Regions from separate parts of the Homo sapiens genome. Here regions 1 and 3 are each linked to region 2. The links are contacts of gene promoters, found by promoter capture Hi-C in human tissues and cell types (Jung and others, 2019). All regions are on one chromosome and are shown on one strand. The core of a region is centred on a gene start or on the middle of the fragment in contact, and the rest is flanking DNA. Distances in the headings are between cores, read along the strand shown. Region 1 overlaps MPHOSPH9 (M-phase phosphoprotein 9). Region 2 holds the start of DIABLO (diablo IAP-binding mitochondrial protein). Region 3 overlaps EIF2B1 (eukaryotic translation initiation factor 2B subunit alpha).

Region 1 (3,159 bases), core at 576-3,075, 1.0 Mb after region 2:
ATGCAAAAATTAGCTGGGCATGGTGGTGTGCACCTGTAGTCCCAGCTACTTGGGAAGCTGAGGTGGGAGGATGGCTTGAGCCCAAGAGGTTGAAGGTACAGTGAACAGAGATTGTGCCACTGTACTCCAGCCTGGATGACAGAATGAGACCCTATTTCAAAAAAAAAAAAAAAAAGAAAGAAAGAAAAGAGAGAGAATGAAAGAGGAGAAAAAGAAACAAAGAAAAGGAAGGAAGGAAGAAAGGAAGGGAGGGAGGGAGGGGGTGGGAGGGAGGGGAGAGGAGAGGTGGGGCAGGGAATATATTCTGATTCTGACTTAAGATGCTAATGTCAAAAAAAAAAGGTTGATTTCTAATTATCAAAAGTAACAATTTCTAGTTAAACACAAATTTTCCAGAAGTTAAAATACATTGTGGCAATGCCTCCTTTGTCCTAAAGCATGTTAATTCAGTTATCAAAAGCTAATAAGGGCTAGCCACGGTGGCTCATGCCTGTAATCCCAGCACTTTGGGAAGCCAAATCAGGCAGATTACCTGAGGTCAGGAGTTCGAGACCAGCCTGGCCAACATGGCTAAACCCCTTCTCTACTAAAAATACAAGAATTAGCTGGGCATGGTGGCGCTCGCCTGTGATCTCAGCTACTCGGGAGACTGAGGCAGGAGAATCACTTGAACCTGGGAGGCAGTGGTGGCAGTGAGCCGAGATCGCACCATAGCACTCCAGCCTGGGCAACAGAGCAAGACTCTGTCTCAAAAACAAACAAACAAATAAACAAAAAGCTTATGAGTAGATACATTAAGGGAAGCATTTAATATACTTAATAAAACATTCCATTTTTAATTGCATTTGCATGGGCATTTTTAAAGGTCTTTCACGTTAGTGCATACTGATTATTATATGCAAACAAGCATAAAGTATAAAAACTGAAAACTCAATTTTTTAAGCATATAATAATACTTTTTTATAATTTCAATAATTATGGATAATGGATATAAATAATTACACTTAGCAGTTGCTGCTATCGAATTCTTAAACCAGGTAATCTTTCATTTCGCTTACTCTACATTCTGAAAAATAACACAAATTATGCTTCTAAAAGTACAATTAACGTTTAAAACAAGATCTAGTGCTTTCTAAGAATTAATAATGGTTTAAACATTTCTATAAAAAACTATCAAATCCAGCCTTAGGAAAGTCTATCTTGAGCATTATCCTATGAAATAAAATTTATATATACTTTTTTTTTTTTTTACTGAGGGGGTCTTGCTATGTTGCCCAAGCAGGTCACAAACTCTGGGCACAAGCTATCCACCTCTGCCTCAAGTGCTGGGATTACAGGTTCTCTTTTTTTATATATAGAGAGAGACAGGGTCTCAGTCTGTCACCCAGGCTGGAGTGTAGTGCTGTGATCATAGCTCACTGCAACCCTGACTTCCTGGGTTGAAGTGATCCTCCCACATCAGCCTCCCAAGTAGCTAGGACTACAGACACCGTGCCACCATGACCAGCTAATTTATTTATGTATTTATATTTGTAGAGACAGGGTCTCGCTATCTTGCCCAGGCTAGTCTCAAACTCCTGGCCTCAACCAAACCTCCCACCTTGGCCGCCTAAAGTGCTGGGATTACAGGCGTGAGCCACTGTGCTCGGCCATGTAAGTATTCTTTTAACTGTTACATTTTTATATCACAATTTAACCTATGAACCAAAGAAAGAACCACTGATCTGAAAACAATATAATGCAATGTATCACAGCTGAATATGGTAAGGTACTAAATAGAAGCTTCAATTTATAATTAGAACATTGAAAATATTTCAAAGTGGATTTAGGTTTTTCAAAATGATGACAATTCCATATAAGTTACTGACAACATTACAATTAGTAACAATTTTAATAATTTTGGGATTCTCAGGTCTCTGAACCAAGACAATGTTTTAGTTCATATTTAATATACAAATTAGTATGTCTAATCAGTAATATATTGTTAAAAAATACTTTTGATCACCTTTTTCCCATTCATTCAATATCATTCCCAAATTAATATACTTGACCACTTTAGCATTAACTTAAAAGTGTCATGCTCTTCAGGACATAAATTTCTAATAATTTAGAGTTTAGTAGAGGTATGTTTTAACATAATTATTTTAAAATTCCAAAAATAAAACAAAATTAGATACCTCACAGTTTTTCCAAAGTTCCGAATCAGTCTTTCCACTGTTTTGTAGCTCTTGCATTAAAGAAGTTAGGACTTCAACTGTACCTTGAATTACAGATGGTCTGGTCTTCCCTGAGAAAGAGGATACCCCATTTGTACTAAGGTGGGGACTACTTCTGTTGAAACATAAATAATTCAAATGGTTTTCTTCATTCTATCAAAGTGTTGAATAATTCAGCAGTTCAAGATTTAGCAGAGCAGTACAAAACCACTGACATTTAATCCTTCTAATGGCACCTCATTTGTTCAAAATCTGATCACAAGTTGCTCCACAAAAGGAAACGGCCAGTAAAAAGACCGCACTGTACTCTTTTTAAGAACACAACAAGAAGACCTTCTCCAGAAGTGAGAGAACACTCCAAAGGATCGGCAGAAAATAGAAAAAGTCTGTGCTAAACAATAAGATTAATTTCCAGCTTCTCTGATCTCAGCTATTCCAGAGGATTATTTCCCCCAACTTTCAGAACAGCCCTTCATTGTGCAGTGGGGATTCTTTCCCCACTGCCCCAAATGACAGTCAAATCTTGTTCACTGGACACCCTTAATTTGGTACGATAAGCTGATGCTTATCTCTGCACTATCTCTGCATAAAAGTTGTGCCAAGCAAATCAGCAGCAAATATTCAGGACTTATTTAGCCTACTCAGTGTGTAAAACAGCACTGAGTTTTTCCAGGAGTACTGCTTTTCCAAACTTCAGGTAAGTTATTTCGGATTTGTTTTATAAACACACAATATATTTCAGGACATTAAAATGTACTTAAAATCTAGTCACCAAAAGATCATTTTAATTTATTTACTGCTTGATATCCTGCTTTCTTTCACAAATAATTTGTTTAAAAAAATAAATAAAAATAACAATAAAATAATAGTTAGGACCAGTGAAAATATTACTAAAAATTCAAAGGAGGCCAGGCGCAGTGGCTCACGCCTGTAATCCCAGCAC
Region 2 (3,024 bases), core at 180-2,679:
AACACACAAACACTGTCTGTACCTGGAAGTAGAAGTCAGATTTCATAAGGCACGACCGCCAATCTGTAACAGGCTCTTGGATTTACTTGCAGGGGCTGTAAACTCAAACTCGAGCCAAGCAGGAACCTAAATGAGGATGCAGGACAGCTGAGGGGTTTTGAAATTTTCAACATACACCAAGTTTAAAATGTTGCCTCAGGCAGGGTGTTGGTGGCTCACGCCTGTAATCCTAGCACTTGGAAGGCCAAGGGCAAGGCGGGAGGATCACTTGAGCCCAGGAGTTCACGACCAGCCTGGGCAACATGGCTGGCAACATGACCCCGTGTCTATTAAAAAAAAATAAGTAAATAAAGGCCGAGGCGGGTGGATCACTTGAGGTCAGGAATTCGAAATCTGCCTGACCAACATGGTGAAACCCCATCTCTACTTAAAACACAAAAATTAGCCCGGAGTGGTGGCACGCTCCTGTAATCCCAGCTACTCGGGAGGCTGAGGCAGGAGAATCGCTTGAACCTGGGAGGCAGAGGTTGCAGTGAGCCGAGAGCGCCCCACTGCACTTCAGCCTGGGCAACAGAGCGAGACTGAGTCTCAAACAAAACAAAAAGAAAAAAAAAAATTAGCCGGGCGTGGTGGCGGGCGCCTGCAATCCCAGCTACTCGGGAGGCTGAGGCTGAGAATCGCTTGAAGCCGGGAGGCACAGGTTGCAGTGAGCTGAGATCTCGCCACTGCACTCCAGCCTGGGCGACAGAGGCAGATCTTGTCTCAAAAAAATTAAAATAAAATAAAATGTTGCCTTTAAACTTTTTAGAAACGGATGCCACAATAACCGCTCCTGCAGGCAGAATTTAGCTCTGGACCCCTGGCCTGGGTGCCAGTTGTGTGTGACGGTCCCGCTACAATCGCCCAGGAGCCTGCAGCGCTAGGTAGAGAGCCCTGCGCCAGCTCCCCCGGCCCCTTCTGCCCTCGGGAGGACGTCTTCAGACGCTCGTCTCCCTTCCCGGACTCCCCCCATGCCGTGTCCCTCCTCCTCTCCACGTCTCCTCAGGGACTTCGAGTGGCTGACGAGGGCTGGTCAGGAGGCGGAGCAGCCCCAAGAAGGCAGCCCGGGGTCTCGGGGACTCGTTTCTAGAAGATGGACGAACTGAAAAGGAAGCCGGGCTTGACCCAGGGGGCGGAGGCGGGGCTGTCCTCAGTCCTCCCGACCGGAGCGAGACGCCGCGACCCAGCTGGGCGGACGAGAGATGAGCGCGTAAGGAAGGCGGGCGCCGTGGGCCGGGCCACAGCGCTGTCCGCGTCGGTCCCTCCCTCTGGTCCTGTCCCCTCTACGCGGCCGCAGCGGTACCTGAAGAATGAAGTTACGCTGCGCGACAGCCAACTCTTCAGAGCCGCCATTGTGCAGCGCGCGGACGCCAGACGCACACGCCGGAAGTGACGCAGCTTCGTGAGCGCGGAGCGGGGCACGGCCTCCACCTGAGAGCGCCTCGCCCCATAGCCACGCCCCCACCCAAGGAAGCAGTCGGGATTGGGCAGGCAGGGGGAAAGGGGGCGAGGCTTAGGGCAAAGGCTGTAACGGCCGCGCAAGGCAACCAACCGCCGGAACTTCCGCGCGGGGCGGGGCATATGCAGGGCCTGAGGGCGCGGAGGTGGGTCCGGCGCGGAGCTGAGTCGGGCGCCGTGACGCTGGCGGGTGGGCGGGGACTCAGTTCGGGCCAGGGCTTGAAGGGAATTTCCTGGTGAGTTAGGGAGGCGGGGCCGGGCGGGAGGCGGGGCCGGGCGGGAGGCGGGGCCGGGCGCGGCGACGGCGCTGTCACTTCAGCACCAGGAAGTAAGTGGTCCAGCCGGCCAGCAGCAGCGCCCCGATGAGCACCGTGTAGCTGAGGAGCACGAAGGCGAGCAGCTCCCGCAGCAGCTGCAGCACGTGGACGGTGGACGAGGCCGGCATCGCGCTGCGCGGGAGCCCCAGGACGGTCGGCGGCCTGCCGGGCTGGCGCCGTCCCAGAGGGGCGGACGGGAACACACGAGGTCCTGGCCCTCGAAACAGCAAACGAAGGCCAGGAAGCCCACAGTGCCGACCTCCCCAACAGCCTCCTGGACGCTCGCTTCTCGGTTACACTGGAGAATCCTTCTCAACCCAAACTGCCCTCGTTCTTCGGCTCTGATCCGGGCTGAGGAGGCAGAAGCCCGGCTCTTCCCCGCGCCCCGCAGCTGCATGAGTTTTCCTCCCTGGCCCGCTCCTCCCACCACCTCCTGCATTTTTAATGCTGTGAGTGCCGCTAATGCGCTGGTGGAGTAAACCTTTCTTTTCCCGTCACTCAAGCTGCAGCCCCAGCTGCGGCCCTGGCTGGAAGGGGAAGGGGAGAGAGACCCATTTGGGCAGGAGGAAGGCACAGGCCCAAACCTGCTCTTCTGTGAGTCCCCTGGCCCCAAGGCTTGCCAGCAGCAGAGCTGGAGGATCTTTGCTTTGTGGTCCAGCATGCTTGCCTTCTGGCCAGCTGGGACTGCAGGGTGCCAGGTGGTGGGTGGGCATCAATCCGATCCTGGGCTCACCCCCGCCACCGTGCTCTGTGCATCTGCCCCAGCCCTGCTAACTTCCACCAGAGACGACATCAGACAGTAAGAACCCCACACCAGCTCATCAGACAGTAGGAACCCTACAACACCTCCAATGCTGCTTTGCCCAGCCACTCCCCACAGTGTCAGGCACTGGCTTCCTTCTCTCCCCACCTCACTTACTTGGCAAAGTTTCCACGAATCTTCCACCCTGAAGCTCCGCGGTTCTGTCTGCTCTGGTGCCCAAAGGTAGCTTGTGTGTATTCTGCGATCTCGGCAGAACTGAGATTTTCAAGCAGCGGCACTCAACAACTAGGTGTGGTCTAGAGACCAATTACAACCTCCGCGTGGTCCCCGAGCTCTCAGGGAGCTGCGCACAGGCGTTCCTAGCCCAGGCGGGGCGCTGGCAACCCTGCCCGCCCTCTGCCTGTGTCGCCACCACAGCCCACAGGGCTCAGATGTGGTTTCACAGAC
Region 3 (3,062 bases), core at 473-2,972, 1.4 Mb after region 2:
TTCATAGAGTTTATTTGAAAAGATGCTGAATTTATTCCCAAGTATAATTTTAAAAAGCTGTTTAGGACCCAAACATATTTAAACATCTCTTACACATACAGAATTTCAGTTTACAAATATTCCAGAAGGCATTTTCTTAAGCAGTGAACCATGCAGAATACTGTTGCTAAACATCGTTTCTGCCTTCCTCGTGTTCTCTTGGTAGTTTTTACTGTTTGGCTTGATCCTGCTGAGGAATGTGCTTACCACTGGAAGCCAGATGCAGATTCAGCAAGTGTTTCTTGCCTCTTACAAGGCACCGCGTGTAACGTCCTGACCAGCTGTTGGTCATTTGTGGCAGAGGGGTGTGGCTGCTTTTCGCCTGCATCTCGCGTGCTTTAGGCAGATCAGTCTGGAGTGCAGGGGAGGATGAAGACAGGTGGACTTGGGCTCATCTTTCATCAGTTAAGTAGCCAATTATCTAACTTGTATTTCTGGAAACTGAAAAGGAAAGTTTCTAGAAACCGTAAGAACAATTTAAGTTGGGATTTAGAATAGCTGACACATTTTTAGATGGGACTGAAATGAGTAAGAAAGGTTCTCCAAGATGTATGATTTTAAGTCCTTACTCCATAAATCTTCATTAAACACATCTCAGTTTTGGCCTGACTCACTGGGGTGTCAAGCAGCTACTCACCCTGCCTCAACTACGTAAGCTGCACCTTGGCAGGAAAGGGCTCACAGGTTACAGATAGAGCTTGATGAGCTCATCGCTGACTGCTGAGGGTGTCAGCACGCCCAGGTCTGTAAACAGCAGAGTGATTAAGGAAGGGGCAGTGTAGTCGACCCACGGATGCTCCTCTTTGAGGTCTTGTCCAGTCTGCGCGACCTTGAGAGTGTCTGCCTTATACTGAGGAGAGAAGTACACATTAGTCGGCACTGAATATTTAGTGCTCTGACCTGGTAGGGCCTTGGTGTGAGTGATCAGTGTGCTACTTCCTGAGACTGCTCTCTGAAAATGGGAGAAACTAAGCTATGCAGGACACTAGAGACGAGGGCAGAGTTGTGGCCATGAGCCAGATCATGGCAGTGTGCTGGCTGAGAGCTGTAGTGTAACAAACTTAAATCCCATGTCCCCTCATTCTCATGCCGGATTAACTTCTCCAGACCTCTCAAGGGAAGATCGAGAGTCACAATAGAGAGCTTGCAGCGTGCCAGGGACTGTGCTAAGATTATCTTAGAATCCTCATGACCCTGTCAGATACTGCTATGCCATTTTACAGACAAGAAAACCGGTTCAGAGGTTGAAATGAAAGGACTTGCCTCAACTCGCACAGTTTGTAAGTTGTGGTGATGGGAGCTGAGCTCAGTTAAGCCCAAAGCTGGGACTTACCCACCAGCTTCGGGCTTCCTCTCCACCCATCTATGGTGCTACTTAAAGAGACTGAAAGACTGAAGTTCTAGGGACAAATGTGTGAGTCCAATCACCAATTTATCTTTGTATTCCAAGTGTTGGGGAAAGTAGCAATAGGAAGTGAAAAAATTACTGGAACATTCTTAGGACTACAATTTCCAAAGGTTTCTGTTTAGACTTTAGTACCCCTTCAAATATGTAAAACTCTTGCCTTAAACTTATCTGGGACGTCTTGCTGGTTTAGTGGAAAGAGCCGGACAAACTTGAAACTTTCTGCAACCACATAGAAAGGTTTGTTCTGTGCTTTGGCACACACAGCCATCTGGTTGGTTCCAATCTGGGAAGGCAGAAAATGGAATGGATGAGCTCTAGAGTGCATCTGAAGTAGAAGCCACAGAAAAGCGGGCCGGGCACAGTGGTGCATGCCTGTATTCCAGCATTTTGGGAGGCCGAGGTGGGTGGATCACCTGAACCCATGAGTTTGGGACCAGCCTAGGCAACACGGTGAGACCTCGTCTCAATTACAATAAAGGAACAATTAAAAAACAGCAATAGAAAGTTATGTATATAATATAGATATACATATATCTAATACATATATTAGATATATCTAATTCTGACTTTGGAATCAAAAAAATAAATGTTTCTCAAAGGATATAGAAACAGCCACTAGAGGCTGGATGTGGTGGCTCACGCCTGTAATCCCAGCACTTTGGGAGGCCGAGGTGGGTGGATCACCTGAGGTCAGGAGTTTGAGACCAGCTGGCCAATATAGGGAAACCCCATCTCTACTAAAAATACAAAAAATTAGCTGGGCATGGTGGGATGGGGGGTGCCTGTAATCCCAGCTACTAGGGAGGCTGAAGCAGGAGACTCGCTTGAACCCGGGCACTGGAGGTTGCAGTGAGCCAAGACTGTGCCATTGCACTCCAGCCTGGACAGCAAGAGTGAAACTCCATCTCAAAAAATAAAAAAATTTAAAAAAACAAGTGTTGGCAAGGATGTAGAGAAATTGGAACCTTTGTGCTTTGCTAGTGGGAATGTAAAGTAGTGCAGCTGCTGTGGAAAATCATTAGTTTCTGAAAGTTAAATATATAGTTACCATGTGACTCAACACTCTGCCTGCAGACCTCCGCCTCCCAGGTTCAAGCGATTCTCCTGCGTCAGCCTGCCAAGTAGCTGGGATTACAGGCACCCGCCACCATGCCCAGCTAATTTTTTGTATTTTTAGTAGATATGGGGTTTCACCATGTTGGCCAGGCTGGTCTCGAACTCCTGACCTCAGATGATCTACCTGCCTCAGCCTCCCAAAGTGCTGGGATTATAGGCGTGAGCTACTACGCCCGGCCTTATGTTACATATATTTTAACTAAAAAAAGCTTTCATGAAGCTTTTCTAAATTAAATAATGGAGAGAGAGATTGTAATAAATTGAGGTCAAATGTGCTCAATTAAAATGAAAACAAATGACAGGCCGGCCACAGTGGCTCATGCCTGTAATCCTAGCACTTTGGGAAGTGGAAAGATTGCTTCAGGCTAGGAGTTCAAGACTGCAGTAAGCTATGATCACTGTACTACACTACAGCCTGGGCAACAGAGTGAATGTGTCTCTATTTTAAAATATATATAATATTTATATATAAATACACGTATTTTATACATACATACTT

The links. The method cuts DNA at HindIII sites, captures the fragments that hold promoters and counts their contacts. A contact is called where the count stands out against the background at its distance.
Region 1: a contact is called between a fragment that was not itself captured here and the fragment with the promoter of DIABLO in region 2, in 1 of the 25 tissues and cell types used here (IMR-90 fibroblasts).
Region 3: a fragment that was not itself captured here is called in contact with the fragment with the promoter of DIABLO in region 2 in 1 of the 25 tissues and cell types used here (dorsolateral prefrontal cortex).

The regions. Positions count from the first base shown.
Region 1 is chr12:123,225,286-123,228,444 of GRCh38, forward strand. It overlaps MPHOSPH9 (M-phase phosphoprotein 9), which reads right to left. Exons shown (of 24, transcript NM_022782.4): 3 at 2,178-2,331. Among named protein-coding and RNA genes, the nearest start is that of MPHOSPH9, 6.3 kb to the right of the region's middle. The HindIII fragment of the contact is 6,998 bases long and covers 1-3,159 here.
Region 2 is chr12:122,224,623-122,227,646 of GRCh38, forward strand. DIABLO (diablo IAP-binding mitochondrial protein) reads right to left here and starts at 1,430. Exons shown (of 6, transcript NM_001371333.1): 1 at 1,343-1,430; 2 at 1-22. The coding sequence starts at 1,392. LOC128125816 reads right to left here and starts at 1,942. Exons shown (of 1, transcript NM_001414998.1): 1 at 1,808-1,942. The coding sequence starts at 1,942. The coding sequence ends at 1,808. LOC101593348 (a long non-coding RNA gene) reads left to right here and starts at 1,820. Exons shown (of 1, transcript NR_103497.1): 1 at 1,820-3,024. RefSeq lists enhancers at 1-737, 1,147-1,196, 1,207-1,446, 1,500-1,794, 1,744-2,575 and 1 more and a silencer at 1,737-1,876. The HindIII fragment of the contact is 13,255 bases long and covers 1-3,024 here.
Region 3 is chr12:123,621,032-123,624,093 of GRCh38, forward strand. EIF2B1 (eukaryotic translation initiation factor 2B subunit alpha) reads right to left here. Exons shown (of 9, transcript NM_001414.4): 8 at 1,605-1,730; 9 at 1-889. The coding sequence ends at 725. Among named protein-coding and RNA genes, the nearest start is that of SNORA9B, 5.9 kb to the left of the region's middle. RefSeq lists an enhancer at 346-1,545. The HindIII fragment of the contact is 7,939 bases long and covers 1-3,062 here.